7 separate regions of the Homo sapiens genome follow, and regions 1, 2, 4, 5, 6 and 7 are each linked to region 3. Evidence: promoter capture Hi-C in human tissues and cell types (Jung and others, 2019). All regions are on one chromosome and are shown on one strand. Each heading gives the region's core, a stretch centred on a gene start or on the middle of the fragment in contact. The rest is flanking DNA. Distances are from core to core; before and after follow the strand shown.

Region 1 (3,465 bases), core at 310-2,809, 210 kb before region 3:
ACATACATGAATCTGCCAACAAATATTGTGATTCCAAATGAAGTTTTGTAAGCAGTGATATGAATCCTGCTTTATCACAATGCATTTGAGAAGATCCTGACAGAAATCCTGAACAAGATTAATGGGGAAATATGAAATGGGATTGAACTAAGAGAGTTAATATATTGCCTGGTACCACTATCATTCTAAAATAGCAGAAAACATTGGAAGAGGCTATAAATACATACTGAAAAGAACTCAGTACTTACAACATGATAGAAGAAGAAATGTTCAGAAGCATCAATTGTATTAAAGACAGCAGAAAGAGTAATAACCAAAAATACATTTACTCAACATTTACACTCTACTCAGTCCTTGCAAATAATTGCCTTGCAAATATTATACACTCCCATAAGAAAATCAATTTTTATTATATACTTTTGTGACATATTAACCCCATCTTCTTTTTCCAGATGGTTTCACTTTCTTAACTGGCATTATACTATTATTATGTTAAGAAGATATTAAAACATACCACAAGGATAATTAAACTCCAATTCACCATACTTTGTTTTAATTACTCAATTACCAAAGCAAAACAAAATTTAAGTAAAATTACATGAACATATAATTGAAGAAGCACATGAACAAATATGGTAAAAGGAAAATTTGGGTTGAAAAATCATTGCATTCCCTGAGCACCCTACCATTGCTCAGACATTATGCCAGACATTATGCTAAGTGTTACAGACATGTAAAGGTAATGAGAACAAATTTCCCTCCTAAGACTTTGCAACCTACTTGGTGACACTGACCTGCATAAGTATAAACATTTATAGTGTGTGTCTGACTTCCTCTCATTTTTCCCCCCTCATAATTCTGTTAAATCAAACTGAAAGAAAACAGAAAGGTCTTGAGTAAAAGAAACTTCACATTCTTTTACTCAAAGAGCCACTCTGATTTCCTCTGGGGTAGGCATTGGGCAGCACTCCTAGCTATATGTCTTTTGCCTGGCATTTAAACTTTATCTTGATTATTATTGCATGCCAGTCATGAAATTATATTTATATTATTTGTCAAGTTCCTCATTACTCTGAAGAAAGATGCTACAGGAGTTTAAATAACCCTACGTCTACAAAGGCACAGCCTGGCTTAAAGCTAAGCATTTCAGTTACACTTATGCTTTAGGTATTAGCATCTCTTTGTAACGCAAATTGTTCTACAGCAAAAGGATTTTCCCGGTTCTGGGAACCTGCGTGGCGAGCGCAGCAGAGTCTAGCTCACCTGCAATGTGCAGTAGTTCTGCTGCATTTTATGGGTACCTCGAAGCAGCAGTGAGATCAGCCTGACTCGGCTTAATATGATAAGTCATGGTTTGTGCCAGTTACTGGCATAATGTGTTAAGTGTGTGTGGGTATTAAGAATTTTTTTAGCATAAATTTTATGGGAAAATTATGAACAAGAAATGAAATTTACAGAATTCAAATTATGAAGAGTCTCTGATATACTTTGGATATTTATCCCTGCCCAAATCTCACGTTGAATTGTAATCCTTACTATTGGAGGTGGGGTCTGGTGGGAGGTGTTTGAGTCATGGGGGTGGATCCCTCATGGCTGGGTGCTGTCTTTGAAATAAGTGAGTTCTCACATGATCTGGTGGTTGTAAAATGTGGCATTTCCTCCCCCGCCCTCTCTCTCTTGCTCCTGCTTCTGCCATGTGAGACACCGGCTCTCCCTTTGCCTTCCACCGTGATTATAAGCTTCCTTAAGCCTCATCAGAAGCCAAGCAGATGCCAGGACTATGCTTCCTGTACAGCCTGTAGAACCATGAGCCAATTAAACATCTTTTCTTTATAAATCACCCAGTTTCAGTTATTTCTTTATAGCAATGCAAGAACGACCTAATACCCCCTCCTACAATTTCTTCAGAGGGAACAATATTGCCAAAATCAAATTGCTTCAATACAATTTTAACTAAATCATTCAGATTTTGATTTTCCTTTGTTTTCCTATATTGTTGTTATTATTTTCTGAAACCATGTTCTAAAGTACAAATTTTGACTTTTACTTTATGAAAATTTAAGCTTTTATCTCACCTTTTTATTGAGTGTTGAAACTGAGTGAGCTCTCAGTTTTGGATGTCTAAACATTCAGTGAAATTTCAAATTGAACAGAAGGTATGAGAGTGAGGAAGAGAGGTCAATGGTACAGTAAATAGAGAACCAATTTAAACACAAAAACAATAACAAAAACTAATAAACGTTCAGGCCTCATATACCATCAGGGAAGTTTTCGCTCTTCTGTTCTTAACAGCCTGCTGACCAATTTTTGGTTTGGAAAATAAGACAAAGATTGCATATGGCATATGTAAATCAGGAAAAGCTACATTTCAGATTGTGGAGTCTAAGTAAAAATTTTAGTGACTTTGTCTGTTGTTCCTTAAAGGGCTATTACATTTCTGACCCTGTCTCTAAAGATCTTAAAATTCAGTGAAATTGACAGAATGCTATAGACTATGAATCACCTACAAACAAAAATTAGAGATAAATGGAATAATAAATAATTAGAGATCAATGGAAATAAACAGAAAAAAAATAATTCTGACAACATAGATGGAAAGCTTGATGGATTTGGAGAATTTCACTTGGCAGTTGAAGAATGAGGATTTTCATGTAGGAAAAATGGCAGAAAATTCATTTCATATGCAAGACTGAGAGAACATTGCATATGAAAACTGCCCAGTGAGATGCCTGGCATGGGGGAGCCGACAAATAAATATATATTTTTTCCCTATGACCAAAGATAAAGAGGGTCCATGACTGGCATGTTTGAGGAAGGGTTATGAAGAGCACGGCTGGAGTGAACAGTGTGCAAAGGAATGATGGAAAGAGACAAGATGTCTCAATAGAAAAAGTTGTGCTTTGAATGCAAAAATGGTTTCCTTTACCTACTAGTTGTGTGATCTTACTCTCTAGGCCTGAGTTTCCTTATCTGTGAAAAGAGGATTATTTCAGTTTCCTAGGGATGTGGAAACAAAGTGCCACAGATTGGGTAGTTTAAAACAACATAAATTTATTGTATCACAATTGTAGGGGCTAGAAGTCTGAAGTCTGCTCCCTCTGAAGGGCCATGCTCCCTCTGAAGCTTGGAGGGTACTCTTGCCCTGCCTCTTCCTAGTTTCTGGTGGTTTTCCCGCAATCTTTGTCATTTTTTGGCTTGGAGTAGTATAACTTCAACCTCTGCCTTTGTGGTGACATGGTGTTCTTCCTGTGTATCTCCATCTTCACATAACCATCTTCTTATAAGGATACTAGTCACACTGGGTTAGAGGCCCACCCTGCTCCAGGATGGCTTCATCTTAACTAATTACATCTTCAATGACTCTACATCCAAATAAGTTCATGTTCTGAGGTAATGAGGGTGAGAATTTCAACATATCATTTTTTAGATGAACACAGTTCAATGCATATCAGAGATAATAGTAAT
Region 2 (3,605 bases), core at 136-2,635, 200 kb after region 3:
TTTAGGATATATTGAATAAAAAGTGGGCATTATTCCCCTTGGGGTTAGTCACCAACTTATTTTTGAAGAGGTTAATTTCACATTTAGTCTGCCTTACTGACTTCCCAATTTAGTCCCAATTTTGAAATGGGTATACAATTTATTCCCTAGCCTTTGAAGCTAATGTATAAAGGGAATTATTAAAATTTGAGTACAAGAACAAGTGCATCATAGATTGAAATTTGCTCCTCACCTACATCTCTGGGCTCTAGGTATATTTTAATTTTATTGAACATTTGTTTGACCATGGGTTTGATTTCAATAAAAGGCTGATTTATAATATTCCTGTTTTTTAATCTTTTCATTTCATTTAAAGGACTTGGTCAAGCATAAAATATCTAGAAGTCAGGCATCTCTCTACTTCAATGGTAAAGCAATATCCTTTGTAAGAAGAAAATATTTTCTTCAACTTCAATTTTTTGTTCCTTGAAAAAATTAAGATCATACAATATCAATTTGTTCTATGAAAATTGAGAGAAAACAATTGCATAGATATGTTCAACTTCAGAAAAACAATTATTTGGAAAAATTTATCTAATAATTGGTATTAGTAACCCCCCATCACTAAGCCTACACACGTTTTATATTTTACTTTTTCATTTTTATTTATTTCATATAGTCACATATTTCATAAACTTGCATGGGTCAGATCAACTGACTCACTTTTTCCTATTGCCCTGTACATTTTCTTGTGAAAGCCTCTGACTGTGATACTGTTTATTTAATAAATTGAAATCCAATATTAGCAAAGCCAATGATTTATCTTTGTTAATCAGTCTCTCTGAAGGGCATGAAGGGGGGCTCTTGCCCTCTGTTTCTGGAAGGAAACATTTAAATACTTACAGTAGTTATTTTTACCTCATCTTGGTGTTATAGGGGCTTGATTCTAACCTTGCTTTAAACGGATACAAGTTTTTAGAGAATTAAGCCTAAGCATTCAAAGGGAAAGTATGACTGTCTCAACATTGATCCATTCTCATTCAGATGACTTATAGGAGAACGCTAAAGAGAAGCCATTTACCTAATGCTAAATAACGAGTTAATGGCTGCAGCACACCAACATGGCACATGTATACATATGTAACAAACCTGCACATTGTGCACATGTACCCTAGAACTTAAAGTATAATAATAATAATAATAATAAAAATAAAGAGAAGCCATTTAGTCTCATTATGGTACTTCAAGGATGCAACAGTCCATAGTACTTGGCAAAAAAACCTTAAATATCAAGAGAGATAAAATGTTGACTTGTGAAAAGCTGAGCAGTGTATATACTAAAACCAAATTTTATATTCTGTATCTAGAAAAAAAGTTGACAAATCCTGTAATACATGGCCTGACAGATGTTGAATATTTAGATGTTGCATTTTATAAAATAGATTATATAAATAAATTATATGAAATAACCATATGTTGACAACAACAACAACAACAATTTGCTTTAAGCACATCCTGGTAATAGTTTATAATGACTGAATTAATAAAAATCCAACTAACTCATTCTTTCAGCCTTCAAAATCTTTGCTTGCTGATAGCTGATTGAAGTGCTACATCATTCATCCAACTAAGTGATTATAATTATCAAATTAATTGTTTCTAAACTATCAAGGTCTAGTTATTTAGATCACTTTACCACTATAATTTCCAGAGTCATTTCTGATTAATAACCACATATAGCTGCTTAGTTTTTAATATCTGGTAAACATTTGCATATTTGGGAGTAAAGATAACAAATTACACCTTAACTATGAATTTGTACTTCAATGCATAGATTTTGTAATTGTTTCTGAATGACAGACGGTTAAGAAACAATTATCTTGACAATGGTGCTTATTTCATATGTGCAGAAAAAAAGTTTTTTTTCAGATTATGCAACGAGTACTTTTTCTCATTGTTACTATTATTATTAGTTACTTAGGATTGGTTCTCCTTACCCATTTAGAAAAATTAAAAGACAAAACAAAACAAAACATGACAACAAAAATGAGAGAAGCTTCCTGATAATTAAATGATGACCAATAATCTCTTAAGTACTTAAATATTTAGTAATTGCACAAAATATATCTAAGTCCTGATGGCACAAAACCTGACTCCCTGCTGTGAGATGTGAGCTTGTCCAGTTGTGAAGAAAGACCATAATACAGTCATAGATTCTCTAAAGAGAAAAATATAGGCAAGAAGTATACAAAGCATTTGGAAGATGAATTGATTTAATTTGTTCATTTGGTTAGCATTATAGGTGAAAATTGTACCTTAACCATCTGATATTAGGTGTATCACAATGGCCAAGGCAGTCAATACCTCAATCTCCTTGTAGTTTAATGTCCATCTACAGTAAAAAAAACAATGACAACACACATCATTTTAGAAGAAAAAATGAAGTATCATAGAAGTCTCAGAGGAAAAGGCAGACAGTTTTTCAGGAAGGTAAAGGAATGAATTATTCTAAGACTATCTGGTGTCAATATGAATGAATTGAAATTTACAGATAGATAACATTCTTCATTTTTAAAGAAAAGTATTATTTCCCAAGTATTATTCTAGTTGTTTCCACTGTCTTCCAAGAATTTACAGTATGAATGGCTGCTGTTTTTTCTTTGAGAGCTGTCCTTTTCTTAAGAACCAGAAGCCTCCATCAATAGAGGCTGCTGTTTTAATTGTTTCTCTTTTTCCCCCACAGGGAAAGGCATGGTTTCTACTGATGACATTGTAATTTGTTACATAAAGCAAAATTCCTTGAGAGAGTGTCTATACTCCTTTTCCTCTCCTCACGTTTATTTGTGAAACTATTTGAATCAGATTTCATCTCCATCCCCCTACAGAAACCAGTATTGTCAAGGTAACAAATAACCTGCAAATTGCTTATGACAATAGTCAATTTCCAATCCTCAAGGTATTTGATCAGCAAGCCCTTCATCACTTTTTCTTTCTCCAGTGATTTATTTTACCTGATATTCAGGGCACCATTCTCTGTTTTCCTCTACACTACTGACCATTTCGTTATAGACTCTTCTCCTAATTTAGCCAGAGCTGTAAAATCTGGAGTGCCTGGGCATTGGACTTCTACTCTTTCCTGTGATTACTTTCCTGGTGATTTACCCAGACAGGGCTTTAACTAGTGTCTTTGTGCTGGTGATGCCCAAATTTATATACTTTATCTTTGTAATAGATTGAAATTATGGTTTCCCTCTTTCCTAGATGATAATTATATCCCCCAACTCTAAAAAACAAAATTCAGACTTGACCATGCAACTTACTGTGGACAATGAAATGGTAATGGAGATTATTTTGTCCATCTGCAGGAGAAGCTTCATGACCAGTGTGAGACCCATGTTGTTTTTTCCTTGTGCTATGAGTCTGGCAAAGTGTTAAACACATCTGCTCTGTCATTCTGGGACTCATAGTCAAAGCAACTTGGAGTACAGCCTTAGCAGCCCCAGGGTGGCTATGTAATATGAGTGAGTATTTAAAAATGTGTTTGCCATAAGCCACTGAGGTTTGGGAGTCCCTTGTTTTTGCTGCATATGAAGTATTTTGACTGGTGCAAACCTCTCTTTTCCCAG
Region 3 (3,558 bases), core at 353-2,852:
CAGAGTCGAGGTAGAGAAATAAGGGCAAAAGCTTCAAGAAGAAAACAAAATAAAAGGGGAGAAGCTTCCAGGAAAGGGATCTAACTTTGGAATCTGCTAACTGGTAGCAAGAAACGGCAGGGCGTGCGGGTGGAAATGTCTTTTTCCTCAAACAGTGTCTTTCTGTAATAGCAAGAAAGCTGCGGCGTCCAGAATGGGAAGAAGTGGATTTTTTTTTTCTTTTTTAAACAAACTCGACATCACTTTATGCTTTAGAGAAAGGGATGGAAATAAATATCATATAAAATACAACCAAATTCCCCGAAGACTTTCCCCCAACTTATTTCAATCCTACTTAAGCGACTATAGGTAAAGGTGGAAATAGGGCTATGGGCTGAGAACGCATGGGTGGGCTGCCCTGGGTGTATTCCAACGGAACCTGCACTAAAGAGGAAGTCTTTTTGCAAAGGAGAGAAAGGAAGAGGAGGGAAACAGAGGGGAAGGGAACTGCTGAAGGTTTCCCTGAATTGCTTATCAGCAACTCATTTAACTCACTTTCGGATATCTGCTACAACCAGCCACATGCACACCCCATCGGAGCACACCTTACCTATTTGCACGCTGCTCGGAAAGGCTCCCATGGCGAGTCCCCAAAATCCAGAAAATAACAAGACAATCTGTCTGGAAATAATCCTCATCTTCTTTTCTCCTCTCCCTGGCGCGCGCTCTCTCTCTTTCTCTCGCACTCTTCCTAAAGGCTGTTCAGAGAAGCATTGAAGACGATGGCGCTAAAATTAAAATCAACCAAAAAAAAAAAAAAAAAAAGAAAAGAAAGAAAAGAAAGAAAAAAAAGGAAAGAGGTTTCGGTGGTTTAAGATTATGACTAGTTCTCCTTAGCAATCCATCGCGAGCCGCCAGATTTTTCCCGCAGTCTCCATAGCCCTGGGAGAGGTTTTCTGTCCGGCTGCAAATGTTGCACATGCAAAAGATGGTGGTGGAGCGTCTAGTGGCTGCTCGCAGGGATGAGACATGCGCTCTATCTTTGCCTCACTCGCACTCGCGCTCGCCCCTTGCTTTCTCACATACACACAAACACTGGCGCCGCGGCCGCCACACGCGCTCTCCAGCTCGCATCAGCCGACATCCCCCAGCAAGCCTGCACCAGCCCGGAGCATCGCTGCCCTCCTGGCGTCCCCTCCTCGAGCGCGCACTCCCTCCGCACGCCCCTCGCCCACCGCTCGGCTGGCTTCACCCCCTGGGTGCTCACCGGAGCGCCCCAGTCTCCCGGACGCTCCGGAGCCAGTCTGGTGTCAGGTTTTCCCTTCTGACCACTCGCTGACTCCCTCCTCTTTTCTTCCTCGGTTCGCAGAGGGACCGACTCTGGGGATGGGCACCCCCAGCGCCCCTCTCTTGGTTTTCCTGGCACCTCTGCTTCTCGGCTGCGCTAGGCAGAAAATCCGCCCACGGGCCAGGTCTGCAAGCCCCAATCGGGGGCTCCGGGGGGTTAGTACCTCCCCATGCCCCCAGGCCCCTGCCGCATCCTTGCAGGTTCGTGAGGAGGACGGGCTGCCTCCCTCTCCTACAGTCCTGGCTTCCCTCTCAGCCTAGCCCTCTTCTGCCACTGGGCTGCGCGCGGGGGACTCCGGTCCTCGCTGCAGCAAAGATTTCTCACCAGCAAACAGCCCGGGAATCTGGAGAGCCTGACAAGGGAATGGATGAGGTGAAAGGGTTCAGAGAGGGATGGGAGGAGAAAAGACAGGCAAAGGGCAGCCCCTGGCGGGTTTAAGAGGCCAGGACCAGGATGAAAGAATTGGAGGAGGTAAGGATGGGGAAGAGAGCCAGAGAAGTTGAAACATCCTGGGAAGGGGAGGAGGGGGTAAAAGGTTATTTTAAATAACTGACGAAGTTTAGGGTACTGAACGGGATGGGGAAAAGACTGAGAAATGAAAATTGAAAGAGGCCTCTAACATTCTCTTGGAAAGGCATGAAGCAGGGATAGGAATAAGAACTGCGTGAAGTGTAAAGTAGGAAAAGTGATTAAAGATTCGATTGCTTTCTATACAGTCACCCATTCCGGAGGACTCTTTCCTTCTGTGCTGTGGCCCATTGCAGGAGCAGGAGGGACACAGCGCAAAGGCTGATGAAGGACCAGAGGGGCAGTGCTTGGGGCAGTGGGCACAGGTGTCTGACAGGAAGATAGTGTTTCGTGCACATCTCCTCTTGTCTGGGACTCTGGAATGCTCACTCTGCTCCACGCCACCTCCAGGTAGACTTAAGCACTTCAGTGATGATGTCAATAGTTGTTTTGACTGGGTAGAAGTGAAAATGAATTATCCTAGAAAGTTTTGGGGTTACAGTCTCACTTGCTCTCCAGAGTCACCTTTAAGATTGTCCTTTCATCTGCCTGTCCTGGACTGAGCTTGAACCACACTCAGAAGCAGTCACTGTGGTAGCCGTGAGTGACCGGTTTCTGATTTCCTCTGTATGGTTTGAGATTTCCTGATCTAGTTAGTAAATACAATCTCCTGTTCCAATAAGCTGTGTGAGAGAATCATTAGAAGGAGAGGTTCTCCTTAAACGTTAGGGAACCTAGGGTGATGTCTGCCATTAAATTTTTAAAAAGAATATAGCAAATGCCTAGGTTTGCCTGATATAATATTTGAGACTACAATGCTTAAAGTGGAATTCTTGCAAGGGACTTACAGAAAGCCTGGTAACGGCTTTTTGAAATATACATTACCTTAACTCTTTCAAAATACTTTATTTGGTGTCACTGATTACCTGTATTTGTAGTTTGTAGATGACATTTTAAAATCCCTGCTAAAACTTGAGTGCTTTTCTATTTCCTAAGTTTTGAATTTTATTTTTAAAATTGCATCTTTAAAATAAGTGTCTGCTTTCCCGTTACATTTCACCACAGATTGTTATGAAAAAAAAAACCTAATTGTAACTGTATTTTACAAATCATACATTTGTCATTTTAGTTTGTGAAGTTTTAGTCTTGCAAGTCAAGTGAAATTTGAAGCATTTTTCCTTTTTTTATTTTTCTGTGTTAAAAAACAAGGCTGTGAATAATAGCATTCTGTTTTCTCTTGAAAAAGGATAATAGAGTATGACACATAAAATTCAAGTTAAATTAAAATTTCAAAATCCACCAAACTGTTAAACTCATCACTTGCTTGGGTAACTAGTGAAGCTCTTCCTGATCCAGAGGCAATTATTAACTTTAATTCTTCTCAAAATTGAAAGATTTCAGTTTTCATATGATGTAATAGCATCATTGATATAGATGCAGGACAAGTTTTTTTTCCCCACTTAACTGTCATGATAACACCTGGACTAATATAACCACAGATGACACAACTATATTTTTCCAAAATAGTAATCCAGTTGTTTTTAATTTCTATTTTCCCAAGTAGTTAAAACCTCTATTTTACTTTCTAAACCTAAACTCTCTTTATCTGTATTATATACACATATATTTATAAATGTATGTATCAAATATATTTTCTCTGTATGATACATAGAAATATCATATATACATATATTATATACGTATATACATGTATATAGATGTAC
Region 4 (3,744 bases), core at 800-3,299, 260 kb before region 3:
TTCTAGATTTGTACGATACCTGATGTTTGAGAGTTGTGAAAATTTGTAAATGAAAACTCTAGATAAATAGGCTTTTACTAAGTATTGCCATGCATTTGACCATTTGCCAAAAATTCTGAGTCCTAACATCTCACTTAGATGGTACTAGACATGGTAGGCAGCCTTGGGTTTAGAATAAGTTAACTGGGATCATGTCCACATTTCATCTCTTATGTGCAAATGGCCTCATTTAGGTTTGAGAAATTTTCCTCTCTTTCTCATTGATCTTGCCCTGAGGTAGGATTATTGGCTTCTTTTGGTCACAGTAAGCCTCTGAGAGGTCAGCCGTGGCTTTTAGGCTTTTTTGATTGATTTGCAAACAGTGTGGGAAGGTCACTGGTTTTGTCAGTAATCCGAGATTCACACTGTGTCTGATGGGACACTAAATTCCCTTTCATATAATGAAAGTGGCAATACTGCTGAAAGGGGTTCCAATTAAATCTGGGGTACATGATAAAGAAGCAGTTTAAGATACCTGTGAGTCAACTGTAGAGACATTTTTCTCCATTCTTTTGTTAAATACCTACTTCATACTCTAAGGTCAGTCCTTACTATCTTTTCCTGATAAATACTTGGTTAGATTCCTTAAATACATCCATGATGTGTACTAGGATCAATATTGTTCTAGTTTTCTATCAAATGCCTTTGATATCTCATCTATTTAATAATAACTGGCATCCATAGCAAAACCCCCAAGGCAGTGTAAGATCCTTTATCACTTTCTACATAATGTATTTCTAAAAGAAATCATATATTTTAGTAGGATTTTAGGAAATACTTTTGGTTTAAACCTTAGTTAACCAGACAGGAGTTACTAACCATAGCAGAAAATGTATCGGTTTTGCTTAGCACTGTATCTTCAGCAGAGCATAGTACCTGAATATATATATATATATATATATATATATATATACACACACACACACACATATGCGTATATATGTATGTGTGTATATATATGTATGTGTATTATATATGTATACACACACTGCATATGCAGTGTCACACACACACACACACAAACACACACACACAACACAGTGGGGACTTAACAAATGTTTGTAGAATGAATAAATATCCAGAAAAGGTCACCTGACTGAAGTTTTACTATTAATACACGCTTCTTTTCAAGGTATATCCCATGCATACAATTATACATTGCTTTAGGATAAAACAAATCATCAAAAAGACTTCACTGCAAACAGCATTATTGACTTTTAGAGACAGCAAGGATTTTCAAGATCATCTCAGCTCAACTGTCCTTATTTAAAGTGAGAACGAGAAGAATCATAGGTGGTTAGTGATTCCATTTACGTTTTAAAAATAAACAACTAAAGATTTCTTATCCATCTCTCAGAGAATGAAAACACTCATTTTCATTTTGTTGGAACCATCATAATTTGGGAGATATAATGTAACTGACCAAAGAAAGAGGTAGATGAGTGCAGACCATCCAACTACCCATTGGGATAATTCTGTTCCAGAGGATCAGAGTTGGGAGTTCATGGGAATAGGGTTTCACTAACAGGAACACACAAATCTAGCTGCTGGACCCTTGGGTTTTTATCACAGTGGAGTAAAATGTGTGAGCAACCACTAGCCTTAAGTGCCATTTTGCTCAATTACTTTGGCTACCAGAAAAAGAGTTAAGATAAGATTTGTTGTTGCTTTTTTGCTACTAGGTTAAACATGTGAACCAAAGTCTGACACTTCAATGTTCAATTGATAACGTTATTAGGTAGAATCCATAGGGACTCTTTGCAAGTAATAGAGTTCAGAATTTAAAATTAATAGATACATGTAAAAATCATAAATAAAAGACTCCCACTATAAATCTCTTATTTTGATATGAAACGGTTCTTTTGATTCCAGCTACATGAAGCTATTGCAAGCTGTTCTACAAAATAATTGATATTTTTGTTATAGGAAGAAAATTAGGTGAAAGGAATAAAGCTAGGGTCCACAATGATATTTATAATATCTTTCAAACTCATAGCAATTTAAGTAAAAATATTCTATAAAAAATTCATCACAAATTCAGCAAACACTTAAAAATACTTCTCATTTTAGATTTCTTTTCAAGGCTTGTTTCTGCAAATGAGTGGACCAAATTGCTCATTGGATTTAGAGAGCCAAAATTCCAATTTGTTTGATTGGTGTTGATATGAACAAAATAAATCTAACTTTGTGGTTTCAATATGTTTCTACTCTCTTAAATGACTCAGTGGGTGATATTTACATACATTCTTCCATTTTTTCTTATGGTGTACATTAAACCATATTTTCAAATACTTGATCTTAAACTCATATTTTGAAATGCTTGAATGAGTATATGTCTAGCTACTATATTAAATAGCAATACATTTATAAGAACGAATTAGTTCATGTCATAAAATAATTTGGAAAACATGTATAGAAGATGAAATGCTTCTATAACCACAGTTTTCCATTAACATATTTTGAGAGAATATTGTCTGAACTATTTCTATTATGTTTTTGCAAATTGATACAAATTAAGATGTCAATGAAGTAATTATTGATGGCATGCTACCATAATATGAAATGTGCCCATCCTTCTAGAAATTTTTTTTTTTGAGATGGAGTTTCACTGTTGTTGCCCAGGCTGGAGTGTAATGGCACGATCTCGGCTCACCACAACCTCCACCTCCTGGGTTTAAGTGATTCTCCTGCCTCAGCCTCCCGAGTAGCTGGGATTACAGGCATGTGCCACCACACCCGGCTAATTTTTTATTTTTAGTAGAGACAGGGATTCTCCATGTTTGTCAGGCTGGTCTCGAACTCCCGACCTCAGGTGATCCACCTGCCTCGGCCTCCCAAAGTGCTGGGATTACAGGCGTGAGCCACCATGCCCGGCCATAGAAATTTACTAATATGAAGTGTGTCCATCCTTCTAGAACTTTATCATCATTGTATTAATTTCACCATCTTCTGAGAAAAGTCCACCTTTTCAAAGGCATTTTTCTAATCAAGATTATTTAGCATTTAACTTTTTACCTTTTAAAAATGCTTTGGTTGGTTTTTTGAAATTGTTTTCTTTTGCTATCTTAATTTATGAAAAAGGATGTTGAAACACAGGGGTCTTAAGATACACGTACAAACCCCTGACAAAGTATGGATTAGCTCTTGTGGAAGAGCCAAGAGTAAAACCAAGAAAACATTGAAAGTTGTTTCATTTAGAGCTACAAGGAATTAAAATACAGATAGTAAACAACAACAACAGCATGTTCAGAATAAAAACACAGCTTTTCTTGGAGGAAAATTTTATAGGACAATTAAGAGTACATTATTTTCTCACAATGCAGTAGACTTTATTGCAATTTATGAGATTTATACCTGAGAGGCATTTTAAATGGACAAAGTTCTCTTACTATTATTATTATTATTACCATGCAACCATGATAGAAAAGAAACCTTTTAGAATTTGGCAAGAAGAATAGAAAAGGTAGACACTCAAGTTTTCTAATTTCTTTAATATGACAAAAAATATATAAGATGTCCAGTTTCTTTAGCAGGAGCTCATTTACGGCTTATTCAGAGTTTATCCAAAGCACCCAGGTGTGCCAATTTTCTTCTTAGAAACCAGCTAAGCCTCTGAAATGGGTCAGTGTGCTTTAGGCACTCAATTGCCTCCTCCAGACTTGGTCTTTTAAGCACAGGTGCTAAGTGGAGGGTCTTTCTGAGCCT
Region 5 (3,394 bases), core at 153-2,652, 190 kb before region 3:
ATGTCATATCATGTAAATCTATCAATTAGGATGTTAACATTTTCTGTTTGTAATATAAATGAGAGCCACTAGATTACCAATCTGCATGTTAAATAAATGCAGCATCAAGCATAAGTAGGTAATAATGCATCCTACAATAAAATTCCAATCATATATAGCAAATGAACAGGTCTGTTAATTTTCTATGCCCAAATTCCTCATTCTTCTCCTCTTCAAATTTACCTTTTGTTTTTTTTCAAATCTAAGAAAGGTCAAATGTAAAAGTGAGAGCTAGTCTCAACTGTAACCTCCAAGATACTAGTAATCATGGCTCTTCTCTCTCTCTCTCTCTCTTTTTTTTTTTTTTTTTTGGTATAGCACCAATCAGAATCACCTATCTATTCAATTTACCAACTATATCAGAAGCTTACTTTGAGAACTCGGCCACCTTTCCTACATTTTTGAGGTTCTAAGCAAGGATCATTAGGAGCTCATGAAGTGTTCTTTATCTGGAAGATATACAATGTGTGTTGCTTAACTAATTAAAAATGGAATTATGATAGAAATAGCACATCAATTTATTGATCTGTTCATGAACATTGATCTAAAATATTTCTCAGAAGAGCCTATTGATTTAATTACTTCAGTTATGCCTTAATACAGTTAAAAGAGTTAACTTTTTAGTGTAATGTAATTTTCACATTAATATGTATAATTAATAACTTTTGTTCCACCTTATGAAGCACATTAATGTAACCTGTGAGACTCTCATCTATATAAAATTTTATATGTATATATGCACATTGAAGATATATTTATTTATACAGGTGAACATCAATATATCATTAGCCAAGAGAATATCTAAATTTCATAGTGGCAAATAACCTAAATTCTCAGAGCTGCAGTCTTCTTCTCTCTAACATGGAACTAATATCTCCCTTGCCTCCTGCAAGAATTTGGTAACTATTAACAGAGATACTATATATAAGAACAGTCTAAGAAATGGTAAATGAAAAGGTCCCATTAAACAGTCCCATTAGATGTATAAAAATAAGTGATTTTTATACAAGCAGTGTGCTTGGCTCAATACACATTTTAACACGGAGATATTAATGTAATAAAAGACAAGTAGACATATCTATATTTCCTGTGACCTGGTAGATCACATTTCTTTTGAGTTGAAAGGTCTTGCCTAAAAATTTCAAATGTTAGTTACTGTGATTTAAGTCAAAGATAAATTTAAGATATACCTAATTAAATTCTATATTGAATAGCACTATTGTAAGATTTTAGTATATATGTGTGCATATGTGTATAAAATATTACATAATATCTATAATATTTATATTCTTAATGTAAGTGAAATAAACCTAATGTAAATTTTAAAAGTATAACAATATGTTTTGAAATAAACAAATAAAAAATAAATGTTGTTTTTTTCAATGACATAATCTTTGTAATTAACTACCTTGTAGGATATAGCCTAGGAAGAGATGTATTCTATATTCCTGTAAAAAAATCTTGCCAAACATTAAAGAAATACTCAATATTTTTATTTGTAAAAATTTTGAACTGAATAGTAAGCAATATCCAGAAAACTTTTCAATAGATTCACTAAATTGCTGAGTAAGTGAGAAAATAGACTGAGAAGTTTAATAGTTATAAATTACTTTTTTGATATTAAGCTTGGTTGCATTTCAAAATCTTTTCTTCATTTTGTGCCCAAAGTTCAATTAACTAATACTTTCTACATCTTGACAGCTAGGTCATTGAAGAGGTTAATCAAGTGTTTGGATTTTATTTGTTATCAAGGTATAACTACTCATCTTCATATTGTGAGTACTTAGTTATTTCTGATGGTTTTAAATCTGAGAGGTTGATTCAGTTCTTAAATAGGAATGCATAGAGGAAGCTCTGTTTCAACATCTCCTGGTCCAGCACTGTCAGGCGGGCTCTGCTTTTGGTGTTCTACCAGCAGATGAAATCTTGTTCTTGAATTCCAGCCTCTTTTGGGCTAATTTCTGTTCTTCTGCTCTCTTCTCTCACCACCAGCCTCTAGAACTCAGATGCCCTGGGCTTATAAGTTTGCTTTGGGTCACTGACTAAACTGATGAGTCTCTTTGATGTGGCCGCATCTGCCCATCTGGACCCAGTCAGGCTGCCTGCCAATTTAGCCCTTTGTTAACTCATCCCCTTACTTGGATCTCCAGTAATTACTGCCATGTCCTGCTCAAATTGGCATCCCAGATGCTGGCCTTTTCTTCAACCTTGCTTTGTGATACTGCTATCCTTCATGTCTTTTCCTTTGTGACTCATCTCTAGGTGTCATACTCTTCTTGGTATTACAAAGTATTTTAGTTAGATATCATGAAATCTTTGCTTGAATACCTTCAGTGATCAGAAGCACAATATCTACCAAGGAACTCAATTCCATTTTCATTATAACACTTATTGTTAGAAAATCCTGTCTTATTTTTAGTCAAATTCAGCTTCTCTACAGTTTTTTTCCCTAGTTTGACCTCACCAACAATGAGCATAGTACTTGTACATTGTAGACAGTAAATGGTAGTAAATGGTAGTGGCTATTATTTTTAACTCAAAGTTTTCAATTGGAAGATTTTTCTCATTAAAAATAACATAGTTGAAATAAAAAATTATGTCTCTAACTTTAATGGAACTCACTTATGCTCTGAAGTTAGAGATATTTCTGAATTTCTTCAAAGTTTATTTGGCACTTTTTTATTCAGAAAGTAATTATTTCAGATAAACATATTACTTTCTATTTTTTCTGTTAAAATGTTCATTTTTCTCTCTACTTCTAATCTTTATTAAAATAAAACCTACATTCTTATAATCCTAATTTCCTGCATGTTTTTCAATATTTGTTGTCCTGAAGTTTATTGAGGCTTAACATTCAATATCACAATCTAATTTTTCTGTATTTTTCACACATACTTAAATTGATTCATCATTTTAAATATTAAATATTTAAATATTTCAACAGGTAGATACATTTAAATACAGTTTCTTCCTTTTTTCTCTCTGAGTTTTAAGAAATAAGATTTTGTGTTTTCCAAATCCTTAGTTTATTCCTAATTTCATTCTCTAAGGTTGTTATTCTGGGTTTTCCTGAACAAAATAGCTCAATTTTATTAGGATTTAATGTTTCTATTGTGATAAATTACTAGGAAAGTTAGATTTATGTTACTGTTAATACCATGCTGTATTTAGTTAATTTATACTTTATGTTAATTGATTTAGGTTCTGAGTTGACTTCCTGTATAATATCTATCTCCTAAAAAGCACCTATCCTATATTTTAAATGTGTTTTATGATTCTAGGCTAATATTAAGAAGCTCATTCATGGAAGAAAACCTTGTTAATTTATTTATTTATATCTTAGAATGAATCTTAA
Region 6 (3,641 bases), core at 427-2,926, 180 kb before region 3:
ACCAGGTTATAGTCTCTCTGTTCCTTTCACCAGAATGGCAGGGATGGAAATCACCGTAAAGTTTAAAATGTACACTAAGAAAGAGTGCTTTTCAGCTCTTTCTGAGGAGAAGCTGGGAGAGTCAGAGAACAATGCCTGTCTCCATGGGGGTGAGTGTTGGCTCTGATAGCTTTCTGTTTACCTCCTCACTGAAGGAGATTTCTCTCTTTGCTTATGGGAGTCCAATTCTGTTTTCTGAAAGTCCAAGATGCATTATAATAGCATGTTTGCAGTCTAATTCACAGTATAATTGCTAGTGGTTCAATTAAAACCACTGTTTTGTAAATTAAAGATTCTAACGGAGCTTCTCCTGCAGAGTAATAGCAAAATCGCTTTTAAGCTTACCTTACAAAGAAGCAAAAAACCCAAAAAACAAAAATACCACACATACACGTTTAATAAAAAACCTTTCTGGGGGAAAGATTTTTCCCTCCACTGAATTAGAAGGGAAAGACTAGGTTATGTACTATGTAATATTTATCTTTTAATTCCCGGAACCTAGCATAGTACATAATATAACATCAACACATGAAAATTTTAGGTTAAATGAATAAATGATTATACTTCAGTCTTGGATACTGTTTAGTGTGTCATCTTTCAACTAAAGAACTCACACAAGGAGAAATTCAAGAATAAGAAAGCTAAATGTTCCACAAATCAATAGTACACTGAGATGTAAACATCTACATTGTTCAAATGATCCAGTTGAAATTTGTTGTAATAAACCTAAAAGAAACAATTTATTGCCGCACTTTCATTATGACTTGAGATAATCCTCTTGAATAGAAGATTCAACTCGGTAATGTGATCTTAAGAGTCATAATGTGGGCATAGATATTTTACAAAACATTGTCATAAATTGCTGGTCAATAGCAGATACTTCCTTTTTCTTTCCTTTTTTTTTTTTTTTTTTTTTGAGAAAGGGTCTCACTGTGTCGCCCAGGCTGGAATGTAGTGGCTCGATCTCGGCTCACTGCCACCTCCACCTCCCGGGGTCAAGCGATTCCCCTGCCTCAGCTTCCCAAGTAGCTGGGACTACAGGTGTGGCCACCATGCCCAGCTAATTTTTGTATTTTTTGGTAGAGACGGGGTTTCACTGTGTTGTCCAGGCTGGTCTTGAACTCCTGGCCTCAGTGATCCACCCTCCTTGACCTCCCAAAGTTCTGGGATTACAGGTGTGAGTCACCACCCCCAGCCTAATAGCAGATATTTCATTCTAGGCATGAATACTTTTTTCTTAGTCAATTGATATTATCGACAATTTATACAGATTAAACCAAGAGTTTGCCACCATTTCCTTTTGTTTTAGTTACCTGATTTTAGTACCAGAGTAAAAAGCAGATAATATCAGTTTAGAAATGTCGTCTATCCAATATCAAATATAATACAAGTAACTTTTAATGTTCATATAACCTTAAAGATATAAACATCACTTGATTTATAATGTCAGTTCCCATGGGAAGGACCATGGTTTGGAAAACACTAAAAGTTTAAGGTACATCAACATCTGCCTGGTTCATGCTTCAGAAATGTTTGATCGTGATGATTTTCCAAGAAACAATTGATGCCCATTGGTACTTTATAGCAATCATCTAAATAAATCTTAACTGGTGTTCTATTTATTTACCATTTTTCATTCTGTTCTTTTTTGTAATGCCTTGCTTATTCCTCATTTAATAGAAATAAAATATATTGTCTCTCAGATTGATCTAATTGATCAATCTAATAGCAATTATCAATATATGCATATTTATATATACGTGCAAAACACTTTCAATATGGTATTGATGGATTGTACCTCATTTATTTTTCACCCTAAATAAATAAATTTTGAATTTGCAAATGAAGAAATTGAAGTTCAGAGAGACTAGTTTATGTCTCTGATTATCTGAGCCCCAATAACGTATAGTATGCACCAGCAAGAACCTAGGTTGTGGAGGCAGACTGCCTGGGTTTGAAATCCGGCACAAGTGTGTTTTGGAGGATTAAATTAGTTAATTTATATATAGCATATAAACAGTAGCTGGAACGCTGCATGGGCTTAATACATGGTAGATTTTATTATTGCTACCTCAGTGTTTCCCAAACCCTGGTATTTGGAATCACGTAGGATGCCTAAGACTGCAGATTCCTGGGCCTTATCCTATATCCACTGAATCAGAATCTCTAATTTACAAATCATGGCTGTACTCTTTCCAATAAGTGATGTTGACCTTTTTAAAAAATATTTTTTTCTTTGCAAAAGGGTTATGTTTTGCTTTAACAGGTCCCTTTCTTACAACACATCTTATTTATGCCCACAAAATGCTTAATTAAGGAGGATAGTAGGTTTAGAACTTTGAATGCAAAAAAGACTTGTAAAATTTTAAATTTGCATACTTGTGCAAAATTGATAGTTTATTAGGGTAAAGTAGAAAAGATGGCTTGTACAAAAGAGCCCAAGCCCATTCATTATTTACTGAAAATCTGCTATTTGCTAAATACCTCTCATTCACGCAGCACATACTGGCTGAGTGGCCCACAGGGACCCAGCACTCTGCTGTCTACCAGGGTTTCAAAGATGAGAAAGGCCAGACTCCTGCACTCACGGCAGTTATAATAATGAAATGCTCCTTTCAAGGATGAATATTGAATTAAATATTTTATTAACAAAAGTGAATTGTGAATATTCACTATTGATCAAATCTGTATGTAAATTACAGAAATGATGAGGGATTTACAGAAACTGCTTTTGAAAGTCTCCCAAATTGATTCTGGTTATAAGGCCACTAAATTGTATTGCAATTAATTTGCAAAAACAATATAGGAATACATATTTCTGCACATTTCTAGGATAAAGTCAATAATACTTATTAGTCTTAAGACAACTATAACCTTCACAGTGTTGGTAGTGACCCAGGTACTGTTCTAAGCATTTTTCACAGGTGGGTTTTATTAATCTTCCAAAAACAACCATGTCAGGAAAGTACTATTATTGTCTCCATTTACTTGTGAGGCTAAGCTACAAGGAGATTCAGCAATCCAAGGCCAGCTACATATGTAGAGGAAGCAAAGTCAGGATATAAATCCAAATAGGCTTACAAACAAGTCTATTCTGGTCTAATAATTCGGTTACATTTAAATCTATACTCAAGTGATTCATCTGTTTCAATGCAGCTTTACATCACTGGGTATTGTGAAGCTAGGTGCTGGTGCATTTTCTTAAAATAATTCTGTCTCTTGAACTTTCAGCCTCAATTATGACAAACTGATAAGATTTTTACTCATACACATACACACACACACACACACACACACACACACACACACACACACAAATAACATCCAGAATCTGTTTTATCTCTTTTTATTTCAAGGTCTGTCATTTTTTGAAAAGTGTAGTTCATAAAATGTTTTAATACTGTCTGTGAGTGAAAAATATCCAATGTATTTTGAAATGTCAACTATGTTAGGAAGAAACCTATGGACGATAAAGGAAGCTTTGCAGTGTTTCTGATGAGCAGCTGTTCTGGTTGGTTGAATCCTTCCTTAGGATGACCGTTATTGAGTCTTTATACTTCTGCACTGGCATTATGCTTCCTCTGAAAGGAATTCAGAATTAT
Region 7 (3,599 bases), core at 107-2,606, 180 kb after region 3:
CCTACTTCATAGAATAGTAAAGAAGATCAAAGTAAACCTGGAAAAATCACAAGGAAGGAAAAAATAAAGATAAAAACATAAGTCAATAAGATTGAAAACAGAAAAACCACCAATAAAATTCATAAAACTAAAGGCTGGTTATTTAAAAAATTCGATAAAATGGATAGACCTCTGGCAAGACTGCAAAAAATAAAGATAAATAACACAAATTATTATCCCTTCAATTACACAGGTTTATCACTATAAATTCCAGTGCAATTGAAAGAGGCTAATAAGGGAATACTATGAACGAATTGAAGCTTATAAATTCAACAACTTAGGATAAATGAACTGATTCCTTAAAATTACAAATGCCCAAAATTTGAACCAAGATAAAATAGATTATAGATATTCCTATAGACGTTAAATAAATTGAATGTATAGTCAGAAAACTTCGCTCACGTAAAAAGCAAAAACAAAAATAAAACAAACAACTAAAAATCTTTAGGCTCAGATTATTTCACTAAATATTTCTACCAATTTTTGAAGAATTTATGCTGTTATTACACAAACTCTTCCACAAAATAAAAGAAAGACAAAATATTGAGGCCAGTATAGTTTTCCCTAGGGGACTGGTTCTTGGACCCTGATAAAATTTGCAGATGTCCAAGACCTTTGTATAAAATGGTGTAGTATGTGCATATAATCTATGCACATCCTCTCACATACTGGGCTTTACATCATTTTTAGATTACTGAAATAGCTAATACAATGTACATGCTATGTAAATAGTTGTTATACTGTATTTTTAAGTTTGTCTTATGTTTTACTGTTGTACTGTTATTTTTTATTCTTTTTTGGACATTTTTGATCTGTGGTTGGTTGACTCCACAGATGTGAAACCTGCAGATATGGAATGCCCACTGTATAAAGATGTGCACTCAAAATTTCTTGTTAAGGTTATTCATAGACATTTTAATCTGTTTCCAATGTGAATCAGATCTTTTCTCATAATCCTCCAATTTATTACTGGTGTACAAGAAAGCTCTTGATGTGGGTTGTTCATTTTACATCTAGACCTTCTCCTTTCAATTATAACAAAATTTCGGTTATCTTTGTCTTTATAGGGAGAAATTTGTCTGCAAATAAGGATGATTTTGCCTCTGTCCATATTTTATTGTATTAGCAATAAAGTTTAGTATTTAAGGAACAGAATCTGTATCTACATTGATTTGCCATGTGTTTTTTTTTTAACTTTCTTGTTCTAATATTTTGTTTTGTTATTTTTTAACTTTTTATTTTGGAATAATTAGACTTGCAGAAAAATTGGAAATATTATACAGAGAATTCCCTTATGCCCTTCATCCAGCTTTCTCTAATTGTATGTAACATTGTATATAACCACAGTGCCAATATCAAAACCAGGAAATAAACAGTAATGCAATACTATTAACTAAAGACTCCAGTCAAATATTGCTAGCTAATGTGCTCAATTTTTAGTTTTCCGAGTTGGGGTGCTAATAGATGAACTTTGAGACTGAAGGAAATAACATACATAACAATTCAGATATATTGCCAAATTGCATCACCAAAAGCTTGAACCAATTTGAACCAACTCTGCAGGAAGATTCCCATCACAAAGAGTTCACAGAGTTCATGGTCATCTCTTATTTTATTGCTGTTTATTTGTAGTTTATTGGTTACTAATGAACACAAACCTTGCTTTATCCTCCAAAGTTGTTTATTGCCTAATCTTGTAAAGTATTTTTTCTGGTCAATTGTTCACAGTTGTTGTACATACACTATTGATATCTTTATGTGAACATGTAGTCACACATTTCTGTTGGAAATGTATTTTTAAGTCTATTGTCTGTATTTTCAATTTGTTAATTATAAACAATTTCAAAAGATATGTATTATGTTGATACGGTTAGCCTTTGTGTCCTCACCCAAATCTCATCTTGAATTGTAATCCCCATAATCCCCATAATCCCCACATGTCAAGGGAGAGACCAAGTAGAAGTAATTAAATCATAGGAGTGGTTTCCTCCATGCTGTTCTCTTGATAGTGAGTTCTCACGAGATCTGATGGTTTTATAAAGGGTTCCTCCCCCTTCACTCAGTGCTTCCTGCCACCTGTGAAGAAAGTGCCTTGCTTCCGCTTCACCTTCTGCCATGATTATAAGCTTCCTGAGGCCTCCTGAGCCTTGTTGAATTGTGTCAATTAAACATCTTTCCTTTATAAATTACCCAGTCTCAGGCTGTTCTTTATAGCAGCATGAAGACAGACTAATATGTATATAAATATAATTTTTGAGCTAGAGTATTTAAAAAAAAAGATGTCTTCAACCAAGAGAGTTTATTCCCTATCAGTAACTCTATTTCTAGTTTTATATAAAGATTTACGACCTCTGCTGACATGTCTTTTGTACTTTATGCCAAAAGAATATGTCCTTTTTTAATCCTATATTTTCTTAGGTGAGGCTTGGGAGACATAAGCTAGTCTATTTCTCATTTCCAGTAGATAAATTTTTTCCAGGGGTTGATCTAAAGTGGGGAAGATTCGGATTCACCACATTCAGATTCTTTAGTTTGCATAATTTCTTGGAAACCACAAATCTTTAATTGCATTGCCATCTCTCAAAGTTTCTAATACGTACACATCATAACAGTTTTTTTCTTCTTCTTTGATATATTATGGAGTAATAGTTTTCTAGTATGTAAGGGGAATTTTCCCTTTGGAGAGATGAAACATTTTTGCAAGACATGCCAAGTGGTTTAAGATGTCCTTCTGTTAGGAAAATAAAAGGCAAGGCTGAATAAGTGGGGAAAAAGTGGAGGTCCTCTGTCACATCTGTCTATAGTGTGTCTATGTACAAGCTTGGTCTGATTTAAGCCTCCTCTGTATGGTAGATTCTTCTTGGTCATTAGGTTGATTGCTTCCTATCTATGGACTTGAAAACATGAATTTTGGCTGATACTCAACCAGCACTCCCTAGTACAGTCATACAGATATAGCCTGTCTAGCTCCTGACGGTCATGATTTTGAATTATCAGAACCTAAAATACATTTGTTATTAAAAGTTTTCTGAGGAATGCTTCCTGAAACCATCTCTAATTTTTACTCTTCACATTCAGTATTATTTGTACAGGTTTCTGGCTTTCTCCCAAAACAAATGTTGGTAGGAAAAAAATCAAGAGTTCATCATGCAGATCCTCAACCCATAAATTAAATGGCCTTTTAAACATTAATTTACACTTTAGCTTCTATTAGCTGAATAATTTTTGCTGTTGTGTTAGCCTGTTCTTGCATTGCTGTAAAGAAATATCTGAAATATCTTAAACTGCGTAATTTATAAAGAAAAAGGTTTAATTATTTCATAGTTCAGCAGTCTATACAGGAAGCATGGCATCAGAATCCTCTCAGCTTCTGGTGAGGCATTAGGAAGCTTTTACTCATGGCAAAGGGGGAGCAGGCATCTCACATGGCAAGAACAAAAGCATTAGGGGAAGGGCAGGTACACATTTTTACACAACCAGATCCTATGTGAACTCAGAGCAACAGCTCACTTATCATCAAGGAGATAGCTCAAGCAAGTCATGAGGGATTCACTGCCATG

The links. The method cuts DNA at HindIII sites, captures the fragments that hold promoters and counts their contacts. A contact is called where the count stands out against the background at its distance.
Region 1: a fragment that was not itself captured here is called in contact with the fragment with the promoter of GRIA4 in region 3 in 5 of the 25 tissues and cell types used here (H1 embryonic stem cells, dorsolateral prefrontal cortex, hippocampus and 2 more).
Region 2: a fragment that was not itself captured here is called in contact with the fragment with the promoter of GRIA4 in region 3 in 4 of the 25 tissues and cell types used here (adrenal gland, hippocampus, liver and 1 more).
Region 4: a contact is called between a fragment that was not itself captured here and the fragment with the promoter of GRIA4 in region 3, in 3 of the 25 tissues and cell types used here (dorsolateral prefrontal cortex, hippocampus and lymphoblastoid cells).
Region 5: a contact is called between a fragment that was not itself captured here and the fragment with the promoter of GRIA4 in region 3, in 3 of the 25 tissues and cell types used here (dorsolateral prefrontal cortex, heart right ventricle and mesendoderm cells).
Region 6: a fragment that was not itself captured here is called in contact with the fragment with the promoter of GRIA4 in region 3 in 4 of the 25 tissues and cell types used here (dorsolateral prefrontal cortex, heart right ventricle, hippocampus and 1 more).
Region 7: a fragment that was not itself captured here is called in contact with the fragment with the promoter of GRIA4 in region 3 in 4 of the 25 tissues and cell types used here (H1 embryonic stem cells, bladder, hippocampus and 1 more).

Annotation. Positions count from the first base shown.
Region 1 is chr11:105,819,750-105,823,214 of GRCh38, reverse strand. All of the region lies in intron 4 of GRIA4 (glutamate ionotropic receptor AMPA type subunit 4), which reads right to left. Among named protein-coding and RNA genes, the nearest start is that of MSANTD4, 200 kb to the left of the region's middle. The HindIII fragment of the contact is 4,619 bases long and covers 1-3,465 here.
Region 2 is chr11:105,407,169-105,410,773 of GRCh38, reverse strand. All of the region lies in intron 2 of LOC105369468 (a long non-coding RNA gene), which reads left to right. Among named protein-coding and RNA genes, the nearest start is that of GRIA4, 200 kb to the left of the region's middle. The HindIII fragment of the contact is 8,590 bases long and covers 1-3,605 here.
Region 3 is chr11:105,608,117-105,611,674 of GRCh38, reverse strand. It overlaps GRIA4 (glutamate ionotropic receptor AMPA type subunit 4), which reads right to left and starts at 1,602. Exons shown (of 17, transcript NM_000829.4): 1 at 1,247-1,602; 2 at 590-767. The coding sequence starts at 677. RefSeq lists a silencer at 426-626. The HindIII fragment of the contact is 8,669 bases long and covers 1-3,558 here.
Region 4 is chr11:105,863,760-105,867,503 of GRCh38, reverse strand. All of the region lies in intron 5 of GRIA4 (glutamate ionotropic receptor AMPA type subunit 4), which reads right to left. Among named protein-coding and RNA genes, the nearest start is that of MSANTD4, 160 kb to the left of the region's middle. The HindIII fragment of the contact is 6,672 bases long and covers 1-3,744 here.
Region 5 is chr11:105,800,801-105,804,194 of GRCh38, reverse strand. All of the region lies in intron 4 of GRIA4 (glutamate ionotropic receptor AMPA type subunit 4), which reads right to left. Among named protein-coding and RNA genes, the nearest start is that of GRIA4, 190 kb to the right of the region's middle. The HindIII fragment of the contact is 4,289 bases long and covers 1-3,394 here.
Region 6 is chr11:105,783,459-105,787,099 of GRCh38, reverse strand. The region is part of intron 4 of GRIA4 (glutamate ionotropic receptor AMPA type subunit 4); the gene reads right to left. Among named protein-coding and RNA genes, the nearest start is that of GRIA4, 180 kb to the right of the region's middle. The HindIII fragment of the contact is 5,237 bases long and covers 1-3,641 here.
Region 7 is chr11:105,432,283-105,435,881 of GRCh38, reverse strand. All of the region lies in intron 2 of LOC105369468 (a long non-coding RNA gene), which reads left to right. Among named protein-coding and RNA genes, the nearest start is that of GRIA4, 180 kb to the left of the region's middle. The HindIII fragment of the contact is 3,577 bases long and covers 1-3,144 here.